2 separate regions of the Homo sapiens genome follow, and region 2 is linked to region 1. Evidence: promoter capture Hi-C in human tissues and cell types (Jung and others, 2019). All regions are on one chromosome and are shown on one strand. Each heading gives the region's core, a stretch centred on a gene start or on the middle of the fragment in contact. The rest is flanking DNA. Distances are from core to core; before and after follow the strand shown. Region 1 holds the start of SH2B2 (SH2B adaptor protein 2). Region 2 holds the start of AP1S1 (adaptor related protein complex 1 subunit sigma 1).

What was found. The method cuts DNA at HindIII sites, captures the fragments that hold promoters and counts their contacts. A contact is called where the count stands out against the background at its distance.
Region 2: a contact is called between the fragment with the promoter of AP1S1 here and the fragment with the promoter of SH2B2 in region 1, in 1 of the 25 tissues and cell types used here (dorsolateral prefrontal cortex).

What each region holds. Positions count from the first base shown.
Region 1 is chr7:102,283,429-102,288,256 of GRCh38, reverse strand. It overlaps SH2B2 (SH2B adaptor protein 2), which reads right to left and starts at 1,389. Exons shown (of 9, transcript NM_001359228.2): 1 at 1,163-1,389. It also overlaps a transcript of CUX1 not described here. RefSeq lists silencers at 882-1,421, 1,492-2,071, 3,849-4,033. The HindIII fragment of the contact is 12,688 bases long and covers 737-4,828 here.
Region 2 is chr7:101,151,483-101,155,725 of GRCh38, reverse strand. AP1S1 (adaptor related protein complex 1 subunit sigma 1) reads right to left here and starts at 1,250. Exons shown (of 5, transcript NM_001283.5): 1 at 1,209-1,250. The coding sequence starts at 1,211. RefSeq lists enhancers at 344-844, 1,164-1,458 and a silencer at 1,269-1,508. The HindIII fragment of the contact is 24,473 bases long and covers 1-4,243 here.

The DNA.
Region 1 (4,828 bases), core at 140-2,639:
CCTGCGTGGAGTGGGGAGGCCAGGAGGGAAGAGGTTGGGAGAGTTCAAGGTGGGACACAGTAGTGGGGGCTTCAGCTCAAGAGGCAGTCAAAACCTCTTGGGGAAACCACACCCCCTGCCCCCAGTCCTCCCAGAGGAGCTCCAGGGACCTGACTCTGGGACGCAATTCCTGCCGGGAGTTGCCGGTCCCTTAGCCAGGAGGCAGGCAGCACCATCCCATTTTACAGGGTAGGTGATGTTGGCTCGGGGGCATTGGTAGGGCTCCACCCAGGTCTGACAGCCTAGCCTGAGGCTCTCCCTTGCACTAGCTCGAAGTGCACGTAGATCCTGGCTTATTCGTGTTCAGAGTCTCGCCTGGGGCTGCCCGGTCTGCCTTGCGTGGCTCCTGAGAGGCTCCAGTCACTGCAGACTTCCCTCCCTGAAGGCCCCCACTTCGGGGCTGCAGGGGGCCAGGATGCGTCCCTGCCTCTGCCCGGCTTCAGCCCGCTGGGCTGGCGCGGTTCCGGCCCGCGCAGCCCGCAGGTTCATCAATGGCCGAGGCCCAAGGGCCTGAATGGAGGGCACGAACCCGCCCCTTCTTAAAGGCGCCGGCCTCTTGGGCACCCTCCACGATCCTCCCGGCAATCGGGGGCTCCGGGGAGCTCCCCGGCTGGGCAGGTCGAGAAAGGGGGGCCTGGGCCAAAGGGAGGGCGTGCCTGTGGCCTGGAGGAGGTCCTCCCCGATCCCATCCCGTGGCCCTCACCCTCATTCTAGGTTGACGCCCCCTCCCAGCGCTCCCAGCGTAGGGAAGAGACCTGGGCACCCCTTCCCCCAACCAGAGACCCCTCCTCTAAGGACCCGGCTGCTCTCGCCCCACTACCCGGCCGGGGCCCTAGCAGGGGGCGGGGGCGCAGCTGCTCCAGAGGCGGCTCGGCCCCTCCAGCGGCTCCCCGCCCCGCCCGGGATGGGGATCGGGGAGCAGATCCCAGCCGGGGGCGCCTCCCCTCCCTCGCGCGCCCTCCTCCCTCCCACCCGCGCACACAAAGACGACACGCGCGGACCAAGGCGCGTGCGGCCGCTCTCCTTCGGGCAGCGGTGCGCACACAGCGCACGTCCCCGGGGACAGACAGGGGTCCCGGGGGAAGGACCAGGGAGCGAGGAACTGGGTATAAGGAGGCCATACCTACAGGCGCGCAGCTGCGGCCGAGCGGGCTGGGGCGCCGGCTGAGCGCTGCCCGGACCGCGGCCGGGCTCCCCGGGCCCGGTGGCTCATGGCCCGCGGCGGACTGGGCTCCCTCCCTCGTTCACCGCCTCGAAGGCTCCTGCGCTCCTCGCGGTCCCGGCGCGTCCCCCGCGCGGCTCTCTGGCAGCCGAGCTCCGCGCGCTCCAAGCCCAGCCCCAGCGCGGCGCGCCCCTCCGCCCGCGAGGCGCGCGCCTCCCGGCCCCGCCCCGCCCCCGCCCCCGCCGCGAGCCCCGGCCCCGCCCCCCCTCGCGCGTCCTGGCCCCGCCCCCTCCCGCCCCCACTTGCGCCGCTCAGGCCCCGCCCCCGGCCATCCGCGGAGCCCGAGCGGCGCCGGTGGCCGGTGCTTGCTGGCTCCCCGCAGCTGCGGTGCCGAGACTGCCCGGTCCTGGGGCCCGGAGAGAGGGGTTAGGAGCCGGCTCCGAGTCGCCCCATCTGGGCGGGGGTCCCCATGTCGCCGAGCCGGCCCCAGGCCAGGCGCGGGACTCCCACTCCTCCTCGTGGAGGCCACCCCTCGAGCCCGCGGTGGTGGTGGCCCCGGGAGCGCGGAGCGTGGGGCCGGGGGAATGTCCTGCGTGGCGGGTGTATGGGACGCGGACGCCCTCGAAGCGCCCCTCGCTGACGGGTGCTTCGCGGGAGCCGCCGCTGTGGCCAGACTCTCCGCAGCAGGGACAATGGGAGCCTGGAGGAGGCCTGGATGTCGCAACGGAGGAAGTCGACGCCTGGTTCTCATAAATCTCGAGGGCGCCACCACGCCCCCTCCCTGCAGCCCTCCGGTGCGGGAAATCGCCCCCGGGCCACAGGGCGGGACGGCCCCCCTGAGCGCAGTGCCCCCACCACCCAGCCTTCGCTGTGATGGGGGCCTGATGCCACCCGGAGAGGTGTCAGAGATCATAGAGGGGCGATGAGGGGCCACAACCCTGGCACCTTCCTCACCCCTGCCTGGCTCCAGAACTCGCCTGCTTTAGGGCAGAGACCAGTGGGGCTGAGGAAACAGTCCCGCTGGGCTTTGCGGGGCATTTGTAGCCTGACCCCTGGTGCTGAGGGCACAGCGCGGGGGCTCTGGGAGGCTTCCTGAAAGAGGTGCAGGGGGCTCAGCAGGCCTGGAAGGGGTCTGAGAGGGGAGGGAGGGCTTCGGTGGGGGCAGAGGTGTGGAAAGGGCCGCTCAGAGAAGAGAGTAGTCTTGCTCCTGGAGATAGCAGGGGGGGACCCCTGGGTGTCTTCTCCCCTCATCTCCCTCCTTGTCCCCTGCCCCCACCTCTGGCAGTTCTGTCCTGGTCTCCTTGCCAGCCGGAGCTGCCTCCATCTGTCGCCCTCCCGGGCCCAAACTGACCTCTGACTTTTCCCAGAGCCATTTCCCATCTCTAATTTACAGACAAGGGTTTTTATCAAACCCTTCTTAGGGATGGAAAGGTGGGGCTTCCAGAGTTGAAGGTGGAGGGGACAGAGCCTTCACCTGCTGCCCAAAACCCCGGTGCTGCCCTCCACGGGGGCACGGAAGACAGGCAGACCCCTTCCCTGCCCCACATCTCGGCTCTGTTCCCTCCGCAGGACCAGGCCAGCAGACACTTTAATGAAAGCTTCGGCAGTGGGCCAGCCCTCGATCGGAGCTGCACACAGGCCTGCACGCCTGGTTGGGAACCAGGACACCTATGAATGAGGCCGGGAAGGGGGAGGAGGGGGTGCCCGAGAGTGGGAGAAAGGGAAGCTCCATACATGGCCTGGTTGTGGTCTCCACCCTCCTGGGAGAGGGGAGAGCCTGACCCGCGGTGGACTAACCTGGTTCAGAGTAGTGGGCTGAACTCCACTGCTGGGATGATAGCGGCCAGAGAGGGTCCTGAGATGGGAAGCCATGGGCAGGACAATAGCTTGGATCCATCCCCAGGGAGGAAGAAGTGAGGAGGGGCCGGCGGCAGAGCGCCTCGGACCCACAAGGAGGAACTGATGGAGATGTGGAAGTGGCTGTGGGGGTGGAGGGGGCGTGGTTGGCCAAGAGCAGCTGTCGCCTCGCTGGGGATAGGAATGAAGGTCAGGGAGGAAAGGTCCATCCTGGGTCCCTGAGGGCAGGAGGCTTGAGGGGCTTGGAAGAAGTCCTCATGGGGGAGATGAGGGGTGCTGGGACGGGGACCCCAAAGAAAGGCCCCTGGATACACATGCTTTAGACTGTTCAGAACTAAAATGGAGACAGAGGTAGCACAGGGGACCCTGGCCTGGTGGGCTGCAGTGGGGGACCTGGGTTTGCAGCCAGTCTTGTGACAGCTGGACAATGAGTTAATGCACCCACTCCAGACCCAGAGAATGCGCTCCTCTATCTGAGGCTGGGCTGGAGGTGAGGTGGCCCAGAACCTGTGTCTCGGGGGGTTCCCATGCGAGGCTGGTGCTCAGGGAGATTGATGGGCACGGGCTTTGCAGCCCCTGGCAGGCGGGGGCCCATGGGAAAGGGGAGCACAGAAAGGGAAGCAGAGATTCCCCAGGAACTGACGTGGACCAAGACACGTCATACACCCAACCACAGCCCGACAGGTGGTTTTTTTTTTTTTTTTGAGATGGAGTCTCACTCTGTTTCCCAGGCTGGAGTGCACTGGCACGATCTCAGCTCACTGCAACCTCCGCCTCCCGGGTTCAAACGATTCTCCTGCCTCACCCTCCTGAGTGGCTGGGATTACAGGCATGCGCCACCATGCCCAGCTAATTTTTGTATTTTTGGTAGAGACGGGGTTTCACCACGTTGGCCAGGCTGGTCACGAACTCCTGACCTCAAGTGATCCACCTGCCTCGGCCTCCCAAAGCGCTGGGATTACAGGTGTGACCCACCGCGCCTGGCCCCGGGTGGTTTTTGAATAAAGGAATGGGTTTCCCTTTTTGATGGTGCTACTTGTCCTCTCAAAAGCACTCGGACACTGGATCTGGGTTTCAGCAGAGCTCTGAATGTACTCATGGAATTCCTGGAGATGAGAAGAGGGGGAGGAATGTTCTGTGTGCCCAGCTGTGAGGCCAGCCCCAGCTCCCAGGGGTGGCACCGCAGGCATCCCCACCAGCCTCCAGTCCCTCCAGCGTCCCAGAGCACAGGGCACCAGGGTGGCTGCAACCGTGGTTTATTTCAAATGTGCAAAGCTAAATATGCAACTACAAATCTAACTCAGGAAGGCCTGCCAGTGGCCCTGAGAGGTGGCCGTGCTAGGGTGGTCCACAGCCAGTTCTGATTGGCTAGGAGACGTTCAGACCCCTCATACCAATCCATGAGTCTGAAGAGACTGGGGCTCGGGGGCTCATTAGAGACTCTTCCTTATCTAGAAACCAGAATATCTTGCTAAAGAAGAAAGCAGAAATCACATGGGTCTGGGGGCAGGGAGGGGGTAATAGAAACTGTTCCGCTGGCTGGGGCTCTCTCTCTTGGGGTGCAGTGGGGGAGGGGGCAGACTCTGTCAAGCCTCATATACTCTGCAGGGTGGGGCTGGTGGCAAAGGCAGGCTGGGGGTGCTGGACTCAAAGCCTGCTGTCCTGGAAGGAAGCGTCTTCCACCTCTTACGGGGCATGGGGGGATCCTAGGAGAGCCCAAGAGGATCGCAGTGCAGACAGGCCCAAGCTGGATTAACCGCAGCTGGAATC
Region 2 (4,243 bases), core at 1-2,500, 1.1 Mb after region 1:
TTAATGATCTCCCAAACATATCATCCTCCAGTGCCAGGCCTATGCCCAGGGGTATCCTCCTCTGTAGTATGTATCTCCAACACCACACAGGGTATGCAGATGCCCAAATCCTATCTTCCTCTCTGCAGGCACCCAGGCATTTGGTCTTCGACATTTCTCTTTAACTTTTCTTCCTTTTAGGGTGCCTCCTGCTAAGCGCCCACTCCTCCCCAGACACCAGGTGACCAATTTCCCTCAGTTAGGGCCCCGCCACCCAGGGGGTTCCCCTAAAAGAATGTCTGCAGAACAGACAGCAAGCTGGGTCAAGTGGGATGGAAGACAGAACCCTCACTGCCCAGTGTACCCCAGCTTCCCAGTTCCGGGGGGTCTGGGCCACATCCTGGAGTCTTCTCCTTACCCCAGTAGCTCTTCTATTCATGGACATGCCCAGGCTTGGAATCCCTGGGTGTGTGGCACTGTACTAGCTTAGTAAGTGAAAAATCAGAATTCAGGAGAACTGATTTTTTTGGTGGAGGGGAAAAGAGGGGCGCTGGGGAGCCTCGTGCGGCGCTCAAATAGGGGGGTGGGGAGCAAGCAGGAAGACGGAAGGCCTGGATTCCGGAAAGAGAATGGGAAGGGGGGCAGAGAGCCCCGGAGCCCGGGATCCCAAAGCCTGGGTCCCTCGGAGAAAAACCACGAGTCCACTTCGCTTCCCTACCTGGGCCCAGCCTCTAGGCAAGCACGGCCACGAACGCAGTAGGGCGCTCCCTTTTCCGACCCGGAAACTCCCCTCCCACACCCCTCTCCCCACCCGGGTCCCCGCTCCCGCCTGTGCAGCCCGGGAAGGGGGTCTCGGTGACTGGTGACCCCCGCTCCCTCCCTCAGCAAAGAGACTCCCGCAACCCTCTGCTTCGGGCGGCTTCCCTGCAGCGGGGATCGAGGGACCCCAGGGGCCAAGACCAGAGCGCCCCTCCCGGCTCGGGACGGCCCCGCCGCCCCTTCGTCAGCCCCCGCTCGCCCTGCAAATGCGCCCCCTCCCCGCCCCTCTCCCGAATGCCACCTCCCCCTCTTCCTCCCGAGCCCGGCTCGCCCACCCGCCGAGGCAAGGGAGGCCTCTGAGGACCAGAGGGAAGACAGGGCGGTTCACCCCGAGGGCGGCCCCCGAGGACCCCCGCAGGTGCAGCCCACGCCCCTCGCTTCCCCCTCCCCTCCCTCTTCGCACAGCCTACCATCCTGCAGCCTCCGGCTCGGCGCGTCCCACTTCGGCCACCGTAGGCGCCAGTCCCACTCCCTTTCTTATCCTTTCTCCTGCTGCCCTCCCTCTCGCCCGAAGCCCCGCCCCGTCCCGCCCAGGCTCTGACTCCCGGCGCGCCACGCACTGCGCAGGCGCCGACGCCGCGGGGAGCGCGGGCGGGGCTGGAGGCGGAGAAGCGGAAACCATGGCAACCAGGTCCTTGACTGCAGCTTCTAGGAGCCCGGTCGTCATGGTAACGCGGCTGTCCTGTGGGCTGGTTGGAGGATGGGGGAGGAGGACAATAAGGTCCTCGCGCTTTGGAGCCTTGTGGGGCAAAAAGGCGGGAAAAGGGGTGAGAGGTGAATGGGACGATCATTGGAGTTCGAAGCAGCAGGCAGGACTCCTGGAAGGGGAGTGGGCCGTGAAAAGGGAGCAGGGTGGGAATTAAGTGTAGGGGAGGAGGAGTGACCTGGAAAACAGAAAGACAAAGGGTCATGAGAAAAGTATAGAACCCAAGCTGAATATCTATTGAAAGCGTGATAGATACACCCCTCTAGTTTTTTTCTTTTTAGAGACAGGGTCTGGCCGCGTCACCCAGGTTGGAGTGCAGTGGTGGGATCGTGACTCTCTGCAGCCTTGAACTCCTGGCCTCAAGCGATCCTCCCGCCTCAGCCTCCTGAGTAGCTGGGACTACAGACGCACACCGTCATGCCCAGCTAATTTTTAATTTTTTTTTAGTAGAGACGGGGGTCTTACTATGTTGCCCAGGCTGGTCTCGAACTCTTGGGTTCAAGAGACCCTCCCGCCTCGGTTTCCCAAACTGCTGGGATTACAGGCGTGAGCCACCGCGCCTGGCTTCTGATTTTACAGTAAGAGAAATGTGTAGAAAAAGAATAAAAGAGAAAAGGAGAGGCTGCTATAAAAGGCATGTAAGGAGAAGGGGGAGGAACGTGAACTGAGGCAAAAGGGGAAGAAATAAAGAGCGTCTTAAAAGGTTAACTTGGGTCAAAACTCAAAAAGGGACAGATGTCACCCAAATCTCAGTGTGAAGATGAGGTGGATGTACGTTGTAATATGGGCTTTTAAACTGAATGTGTGTGTGTGTCTACATGTTACTGGAAAAAGGGGTCCCGATCCAGACCCCAAGAGAGAATTCTTGGATCTCATGCAGGAAGGAACCCAAAGCAAGTCGTAGAGTGCGATGAGAAGAGAGAGTTTATTGAAAGCTACACCCTTACGGAGTAGGGCGTCCTCAGAAAGCAAACAGAGGAACACACTGTCTTAAGTTTTTCTTTTCTTTCTTTCTTTTTTTTTTTCTTCTTTTTTTGAGACAGGGTCTTACTCTGTTGCCCAGGCTGGAGTGTAGTAGCATGATCATAGTTCACTGCAGCCTCCACCTCCTGAGCTCAAGCGATCCTCCCACTTCAGTCTCCCAAGTAGCTAGGACTACAGGCATGCACCACCACAGCCAGCTAATAGTTGTATGTTTTGTAGACACAGGGTATTGTCATGCTACCCAAGCTGGTCTGGGACTCCTGGACTCAAGGTATCCACACTCCTCAGCCTCCCAAAGTGTTGGGATTACAGGTATGAGCCACCGCCCCTGACCTTTAAGTTTTTCTTATATAGGGGTCTTGTTTTTGTAGAGACTAAACTAAGCCGAGTCAATGTGCAGATGGGCCAATGGCATGACAAAATTTATTATTCTGTTAATTTAACTATCCTTGACATTCTAGTAGGTAAGTACATCAAAGCAAAACTTAATTATCTTTCTTCCTTTTTTTTTTTTCTTGAGACAGAGTCTTGATCTGTTGCCCAGGCTGTAGTGCAGTGGCGTGATCTCAGCTCACTGCAACCTCCACCTCCTGGGTTCAAGCCATTCTTGTGTCTCAGCATCCCTAATAGCTGGATTACAGCTACATCCTTTCACCTCAGCCTCCCAAGTAGCTGTGACTGCAGGCATGAACCAGTGCATCCAATTAATTAAAAAAATATTTTGTTGTAGAGATGGGGTCTCACTACTGGGATTGTAGGCATGTGCTACGACACCCAGCTAATTTTTGTATCTTTAGTAGAGAGGGGGTTTTGCAATGTTGGCCAGGCTGATCTCGAACTCCTGGCCTAAAGCAATCCTGCCTTAGCCTCCACACCCAGCCAGAACTATAATTATCTTAAAGGCACATATTGTTATGGGTATTGGGGCATCTGGATTTTCTGTAGTTGGAGGAGTCTGTCCTTGCAGGTATCTTTAAGCTGTTTCCCCAACTGTAAACAGCTTTGGGTTGTGACTGACAAGGAATGTGCCTTGTTAGTTTCAAGATGGAGCTGAACTTAAAATGGCTTTATGCTGGCTCTCTGAGGCTCCTGCTTCCCTAGCACAAATGATAAAGTAAAGAGGTCTGGATAGAAGGATAAGAGAAAATCTTAAATTTTGTCATGCAGAAAAGTTAATGGTAGATAATTGTTGGCAACTAATGTGCTATTATTTTTGAGTAGCACATGATGCAATTGTTGGTAAGGCCTCACCTCCTGTCTCCACTTTATTTATTTATTTTGTGTATTTATTTTTTTGAGATGGAGTCTTGCTCTGTTGCCCAGGCTGGAGTGCAGTGGCACAATCTCGGCTCACTGCAACCTCCACCTCCCGGGTTCAAGTGATTCTCCTGATTCAGCCTCCTGACTCAGCCTTCTGTCTCAAAAAAAAAAAAAAAAAAAGAGGACAGTAGTACATATCTTGCAAGGTGGTTCTGAGGATTAGAGGTAATGTATAGCAAGTATCTGTAAACACTTCATAATGGTACCTATCATTTCCTCTTCCCAGACTCTTCCTTTTTTTTTTTTTTTTTTGTTGTTGTTGTTGTTGTTGAGACGGAGTCTCGTTCTTGTTGCCCACGCTGGAGTGCAGTGGCACGATCTCGGCTCACTGCAGCCTCCACCTCCCCGGATCAAGCAATTCTCCTTCCTCAGCCTCCCAAGTAGCTGGGACTACAGATATCTACCACCACACCCCGCTAAGTTTTATTTTTTTAG